Linked DNA regions of Homo sapiens: region 1 is linked to region 2. The links are contacts of gene promoters, found by promoter capture Hi-C in blood cells and fetal thymus (Javierre and others, 2016). All regions are on one chromosome and are shown on one strand. The core of a region is centred on a gene start or on the middle of the fragment in contact, and the rest is flanking DNA. Distances in the headings are between cores, read along the strand shown.

Region 1 (3,972 bases), core at 1,448-3,947, 2.9 Mb before region 2:
CTTGTGATCGTCTAAGCCAATTCTCCCTAATAAACTTCCTTTCCTATAGACATATATCCTATTAGTTCTGTCTCTCTGGAGAACCCTGACTAATACAAGGCAATTCTCTTTGGTACTGCCCCTTCACTTGGTAGTCAGAGCCATAGACACGCAGGCTCAAGCCACTTCACAAGTCAGTCAATATTGCAAACCATACATAGTAGTGTACTTAATCAATATATATAAATGTTATAGATTAAACATTTCACAATAAACAAAGTAATGTTTAACATCAAGAGAAAAGAGATAGGAGAAAAGGGTTAACAAGTCAGTCCAAGGAGAGTAACAAAACCCTTGGTCAGGGCTGGGCAGGCCCATTGGTCTTGCAAGAAGTCTTTGAGGCTTCAGCAGCAGATGCCAAGTGCTCATCACAAATGACAGCAGGACGGTTGCAGTTAAGATGGTTATTTCAAGCCACTGAAGCCTTGCTCCTTTTATGGCCACAGAGTCCTCTGGGGAGGACAGATGGTGGAAGAATGTGCTTGTTTATATCCTTATCTGGTTGGATGCAGTCTTTATTATTTATTTATTAAGCAAAACATCTTGTCCCTGTTGGCAAAGTGCCCTGTGGAATGCAAGATGGAGTCTTTTTCTAAGATGGAGTTACTTATGTCAAGGGTACTCTATACAGTAGTCTTACCCACACGTTCATAGAAACATACAATCTCATCCATGTCATAATGAAGGCCAAAAACCTCACAGGCGCCCTCCCTTACCTGAGCTCCAGGAGGCTCCCTGATGAGTCCACACAATCACAAATCCAGTCACACCCACCAATGATTCTCTCCCAACAACAGCATATATTTTTTAGGGCAAAGCATCTCACACCCCAGTGTTTGTCTAAATTGCACCATTTCGGAAGCCCCCTGCTCTTTTGCAGACCTTGGTCAAAGTGAAACATTTCACAGGGGTTCAGGCAGTGAGAAATATCCTGCCTAACCACCTGACCACAAGGCGAACAAAGACCCAATTAAAGAAACATTCTCATCATGTCCTACTGGGCAAAGGCCCAACTACAAAAACCATCCCTATCATATCTTTCTTGGCAAAGGTCCAAGGAACATCCTGATGAGATCCCACCGGAAAAAGGGCCAAACCGCCTGATCATAAGAACATCTTGTCAATATCCTGCCGGGCAGCAAGCCATACAGCCCAGGCCTCTCCCGCCCATACCAAGGTAACACTCACAGAGACATCTGAAGAGCCAGGCAGTGCTCCCAAGTCTGGGACAGCATCAGAGAACGAAACGCAAAGTCCTGCCCTTACAGAGAGAGCCTTGGCACAGACCCAGTCAGGACCAGGTCACTCCCGTGGAACCTACTCAAGGTCCCTACACACATGCCTGGAGCTCCCCAATCTACTGGGGGGTGGGGGAAAGGGCAGTGCTGAAACGTCCCCAAAATCTCACATGTAAACACCCTACCTAACACTTTCTAGAGGCATTTCCAGCTCGGGGCTGTATTTCCAAGAACGCTCTGGAGGCACAGCTCTTTTCTAAGGAGGGCCATGTTGCATGCTGGGAAATTTTTGAACTTTTCCCAAATCACAGCTTTTAAGCTTTCCGGGCTTATTATTATTATTATTATTATTTTGAGACATTGTTTCACTCTTATCGCCCAGGCTGGAGTGCAGTGGTGTGATCTCGGCTCACTGCAACCTCTGCCTCCTGGGTTCAAGCGATTCTCTTCCCTCAGCCTCCCAAGTAGCTGGGATTACAGGCACACACCACCACGCCTGGCTAATTTTTGCATTTTTAGAGCGATGGGGTTTCACCATGTTGGGCAGGAGGGTCTCGAACTCCTGATCTCAGGTGATATACCCGCCTCGGCCTCCCAAAGTGCTGAGATTACAGGCGTGATTTCTGGTCGTTTCAGACTACATTTCCTTCCCAGAAGGACGCGGGGACACGCCTTCCCTATGGACGGATCCCAAATGCAAGTTGTAAGCAATTATAACTGTAGGCCCCTAGAGCCTGAACCACTTTTCCCAGGAATTTTTTGTGGTGCGCCTTAGGAGCAAGCAAAGTTTCAGGGCAGGAGAAGGCCGACAGGGCTTCCAGCATTTGAAGATTCTGCCAGTCTGAAATACGCTTTCCCAGAAGTCTATGGGGGGTGCAGCTGCTCTAACAGTGGGAGGAGACACCGACGAAAAGCATTCTGACGGCCGCGCTTCCAGCGCTAAGGATTCCCGCGTAGTGAGCATTTCCCAGAGGTCTCTGGGGCATGGCTCCATTAGGGCCGTGTGCAGTTGCCTGCAGGGAAACACTGATGGGCGCCCTTCCAGATACGTCGATTCCCGGGTTATGAGCTACATTTCCCAGAAGCCCTCAAGGCAGGACGCCCTTAGGGTCGCGTAGAGTTGCATGCTGGGAAATCCTGACAGCCGCTTCCAACTCTGTGGATTTCCGGGTTATGGACTACATTTCCCAGAGGCCTCTGGGTCACGGCTCCATTTGCGCCGTGTAGAGTTGCATGCTGGGAAACACTGACGGGCGCCCTTCCAGCTGCGTCGAAGCTTCTCTGGTTTCGCATTACATTTCCCAGAGGGCCTTGGGGCACAGTCCAATGAGGAGCGAGCCGGGTGGCCGGCTGAGGGGCGTGCTTCATGCTCGCGGGATTTTTAAAAATGGTTTCTCCTGGATCTTATCCCAACTGCGCCTGAGACCTTGTTTCACCTCCTGATGTGCTGGGTGTGGTTAGGCCTCGAGCCGGGAGCTATTTGCCTCCCAGGAGGAAGCCAGGGCAGGGTTCCGCGGGGAATGGCGGTGAGGGAGCCACTCGGGACGCGGAGGCCCTAAAATGAAGAAGCTTCGGCCTGAGGCTTCGGGAGCGGCGAGCAGGGAAGTGGGAGTGTGTGTGAGTGTGTGTGTGTGTGTGTGTGTGTGTGTGTGAATAAGCCAGAGGCTGCCTGGTGGGGCCCCGCCGTGGCCCAGTGACTGAGATAATTGTCTTCGTCTGTGGGGTAATGCGAACAAGCCCCGTTCCCCTAAGCCGTGATGCATGCGGGGTTGACGCGGCCGGGCTCTGTCCCCATAAACTGTGACACAGGTGTGTGTAGACGTCTATGAGGGCCATAGCGCCGGGCTGTAAGGGCATCTGTAGGGGTGACGCAGCCGGGCTGTGTCTCTGCACCTCCGTTCTGTGCGAGGTCAATGCTGGTGGGGTCTGCAGAGGTGGCACGGCCAGGACGGGTCTCCGTGTCTCTGAAATGTGCCTTTGCACTTCTGTCAGGTTGACAGGGACAGGCAGTGTCCCTCTGGTGTGAGCGTCTGTGGGTGTGAAAGGGCCAGCGAGTGTGCGGCTGTGACTGGTCGGGATCGGGCCTGGGTGCATGGCCTTTTGAGTGAGCACAGGTGTGTGCGACCATGTCACCTGTCTTTCTAGTGTCTCCGTTGCTTCCTGTGCCTTGGCCTTCCAGCCATGTGGTACCTGCTAGGGAGCAGTGGTCCCAAAGTGACGTGAGAGGCTCTACGCTATTGTGAAAATGACCAAGAAGAAGGCTTCACAAGTCACGAGATGGCAGTTTTGGAGCCAGAAGTGCTCTCCGTGCACACTACCTGGACGACAAGAGGAAGTAACCTCAAGAATAGAATTCCTTTTGGGGAAGAAAGAGGTACCTGACATGGGAGGCGGGGAGGTGGTGAGAGGGGCAGCTCCATGTTTCAGAACCCCAGTTCCTAGAGTTTTCCAGCATTTCTCTGAAAAACTCACATGCCTGTGCCCTCTTATTTCTGATTGATTTTAACTGTGGTCTGGGGACAAGTGTGCCCTATTTTCTTTCTTTGTTTTTTTTTTTTTTGAGACAGAGTCTTGCTCTGTCGCCCAGGGCTGGAGTGCAGTGGTGCGATCTCGGTTCCCAGGTTCAAGCGATTCTCCTGCCTCAGCCTCCCAAGTAGCTGGGACCACAGGCGCACGCCACCATGCCCAGCTAATT
Region 2 (3,907 bases), core at 980-3,479:
AACCTTGCAATGTATTTTCATACGTTCTCTAATAAATCTGCCTTTCTTTAGGACTGTCCTGGTAAATATGAGACTGTTTTCTTTACCGCCTTTGATACAAGCCCTATCTAGTTGCTACCCATGACAGTAGGTATATTGTTTATGTTCAACATTTTATTATAAACAATGTTTCAGCTGGGCTCGGTGGCTCATGCCTGTAATCCCAGCACTTTGGGAGGCTGAGGCAGACAGATCAGGAGGTCAGGAGATTGAGACCATCCTGGCTAACAGGTGAAACCCCGTCTCTACTAAAAATACAAAAAAATTAGCCAGGCGTGGTGGCACGTGCCTGTAGTCCCAGCTACTCGGGAGGCTGAGGCAGGAGAATGGCATGAACCTGGGAGGTGGAGCTTGCAGTGAGCTGAGATTGCGCCACTGCACTCCAGCCTGGGTGACAGAGCAAGACTCCGTCTCAAAAAAAAGTTTCAGTTAGTATTTTTTGCTGATATCATAGTTGCGTTTGTTTAATTTCCTCAAATAAAATTCCCAGCTTATATGATGCTCTTTGTCACTGGCAACTTTGGTCAGACAATTAAATGAAGCAATTGAAGGGCACAACAGGATTTTGGAAGGGATGGTACAGGATTGGGAGATAAACTAGAGATAGGAGTTTATAAAATATTTTCAAAGACAGATTGAAGAATAGGAATAAGAGTATGATATTGTGAAATATATATTTGATCTTCCTAGCATAGAACTTCTAAAATCCTTAGAAACTACAAAGTAACAGTAAAAACTCATTTTGTATGCTAATGAGTTGACAGCTGGCAACCCCTATAGAGTTTCAGGATGGGGACTGGTTATGGAAAGACCAAGACATGACTAGAAGGTTGGGACATTCAACCCCACCCCCAACCCTAAGGAGGGGACGGGATTTTAATCAACCATGCCTATGTAATGAAGCCTCTGTAAAACTCCCAAAAGACAGGGTTTAGAGAGCTTCCACCCAGCTGAACATGTGGAGGTTACTGGAAGGTGCAACACCCTTTTTTCTGTACTTTGCCCTACGCATCTCTTCATCTATATCATTTGTAATATCCTTTATAATAAACTAGTAAACATAAGTGTTTCCTGAGTTCCGTGAGCCACTCTAGCAAAATATCGAACCGCAAAGAGGGGGTGGTGAAAATCCCAATTTGAAGGTGGTGGAGTCAGATGTTCCAGAGGCTAGACTTTAGTGGGAAGTGGGAAGGGGGAGGCAGGCTTGGGGACTGAGCCCTCAGCGAATGGTGTCTGACCCATCTCCAAGTAGACGGCGTCGGAATTAAACTGGAGGACACCCAGCTGGTGCCCGCTGCAGAACTCACTGAACTCATTGCTTGCTTGAGATGTGTGGGAAACTCCCCTATATTTGGTCAGAAAAGTCTTCTGTTATGATTAGTTGTCGTTGAGATAATAGAAAAAAATGCACCTTGCGTTTTTTCCACTGATTCAGAGGGCATAACTGAAAGAATGAAGAACTGAAAGAATGATCTTAATACTCTGCTTCGCTTTTCTTGATAATACGCATTACTTCCCAATATGCATCAGTGTCCTTTATTATTAATTTTTTCCTATTGAATTCCTCCCGCATTAGAATGCTGCTCCATGAGGTGGGGATTTTGTCTGCTTGTTCACTGCTGTGTGCCCAGGGCCCACGACAGTGCCCGATACAGCAGGCGCTCAATAAGTGGCGAATGAAAGACAGGGCAAGGCGGAGAGAGAAGAAACAGAAAGGGAAAGAGAAAGCCCGGGCCGCCAGAGCGCTTAATCACACGTACATCCTACCGGGCCCCTCTCCAGCTGGCTCAGGCTCCACACTGGTCCTCCAGCTCCCTTTTCTCAGCGATGGACTCACAGCCCCACCCGGAGCGCTGGAGCGCGGACGCGGTCACTGCGCGTGCGCCTCACCGCGCTGGCACCCCGGCCTGGCAGCCTTTGGGGACCTGAACCAGCTGCGCCTGCGCAGGTGGAACGGGTGGAACGGGTGGGGGAGCGGACAGTCGAACGGCCTGAGAGGGCTCAGCTGGTCCGGGTGGGATTCTGAAGGCCAGCGGAGGTGGGCTTACTAGGGAAAGGGGCGCAGCAGTAACTACCCGCAACTGAGCGGCGGGATCTGCGGCCGCCCGGGGCCCTCGGCCAACATCCCAGCATCCTCTGCGCCGCGCCGGCCCCGGACTCCATTTCCCAGCGGCCCCTGCGGCCTGCCCTAGGGCTGCGGCGCCTTTGTGAGCGCGGCCGCCGGCCAGGATCGAGCCCTGGCCCGGGCCCTGGCCCAGCCCCGGCCTCCAAGGACCGCGCCGAAGGAGGTGCCCACTGGAGGGAGGAGGCGGTGAGGAGCGCGGGATGGAGCTGACGCCGGGAGCGGCCATGCCACCATGTGTGGGACCGTGTGTGACAGTGTGTGAGAATGTGTGAGACATTAAGGAACCGTGTGTGACAATGTGTTTGACAGTGTGGAATCGTGTGTGAGACCATGTGTGACTGTGTGAGAATTTGAGACCGTGTGTGACAGTGTGAGAATGTGAGGCCGTGTGTGAATATGTGTGTCAGTGTGAGACCATGTGGGACAAATGTGGGACTATGTGTGACAGTATGAGACTGGGTGTGAGAATGTGTGCGACAGTATGAGACCGTTGCCCCGGTGTATGCGGGAGCCTTTGACAGTATATGGGACCGTGTGGGACTGTGTGACACTGTATGTGCTTAAGACCACGTCACCATGTGTGAGACTGGGAATGTGTGACAGTGTTAAACTGTCATTATGTGTAGACCACGTGTGAACAGTGTGTAAGACCATGTCACTGTGTGTGTGACCTGTGTGTGTGGGATAATGTAAGACTGTGTGACAGTGTGTGTGACTTTGTGAACAGAGCTTGACCGTGTGTGTAGGATTAGATGAGACTGTGACAGTATGTGAGACCATGTCACCGTGTGTGAGGCTATGTGTGGTTGTGTACGGTGTGTGGCTGTTGATATGGGACCACATGAAACTGCGACAGAATTTGTGTGACAGTGTGTGAGACTGTGTCACTGTATGTGAAACTGTATGTGAACAGAGTTTTTGTTGTTGGACTAAGATTGTATGTGACAGTGTTTGAGATTGTGCATGACAGTGTGTGTGATTATGTGAGACTGAGGGAGATGGTGTGACTTAGCACTGTATGTCATCCCGACAGTGAGTGTGACAGTGTGACTGAGAATGGCCTTATATGACCCATTGTGAGAGCAGGGCGGGCTACAATGTGGGGGCATGTCCATAGGTTGCCAGGGGAGGTGCCAGAATGAGAAACTATGTGGTTTGTTGTCTGTGATTTGTGTGGGCAGGAAGCTGTGTGGGTGCTTGGAGATGCTGGTGTGCTCTGGGGTTTGGGAGACTGCTGTTGTGGTGGAGAGACAGAAAGATTGAGATAAAGGGGAAAAGATGGAGAAAGGGAGGGACGAGAGCTGAAAAGGGAGAGACAGACAGGAGCCTCAGCCTTAAGCCTGAAAAGCTGACCACGCTGGCTGCTTGTCCTCTGGCACAGTAGTTTTTCCATCCCTCTCAGTCTCTGGGGGCACGTGAGGAATTTAAAAGGAAAAAGGAATGGGAGACCTACCATGTGCTGGTTATGAAAATAAATGACAGAAAGATGAAAATTAAGCACTGTGCTCAATGCTTTATGTAGATCATTTCAGAATCCTCCCAACAATTGATAGGGAATAGTTACCATTTCACTGATAGAGAAACAGGTTTGCAGTGGTTACCTAACTTGCCAGAGGTTGTATAGGTAGCATGTGGTGGTTTGGCTGTTTGAGACCAGGTGTTCTGATCCTTAAGCCTAGTAGTTCTTACCACTGAGTTATGCCACTTCATAGGTAATGGCTTTATTCTTCAAGGCAGTGAGGT

What was found. Contacts are between HindIII fragments. The CHiCAGO score rates a contact against its expected background, and 5 or more counts as called.
Region 1: a fragment that was not itself captured here is called in contact with the fragment with the promoter of ZNF583 in region 2 in 2 of 17 cell types (non-activated CD4 T cells and naive B cells); the score reaches 10.4 in non-activated CD4 T cells.

The regions. Positions count from the first base shown.
Region 1 is chr19:53,518,434-53,522,405 of GRCh38, forward strand. It overlaps a transcript of ZNF331 not described here. Among named protein-coding and RNA genes, the nearest start is that of ZNF331, 18 kb to the right of the region's middle. RefSeq lists enhancers at 1,291-2,065, 2,066-2,839, 2,330-2,529, 2,840-3,613. The HindIII fragment of the contact is 293 bases long and covers 2,552-2,844 here.
Region 2 is chr19:56,402,103-56,406,009 of GRCh38, forward strand. It overlaps ZNF583 (zinc finger protein 583), which reads left to right and starts at 2,230. Exons shown (of 5, transcript NM_152478.3): 1 at 2,230-2,350. RefSeq lists an enhancer at 1,654-1,793 and a silencer at 2,254-2,463. The HindIII fragment of the contact is 8,045 bases long and covers 1-3,907 here.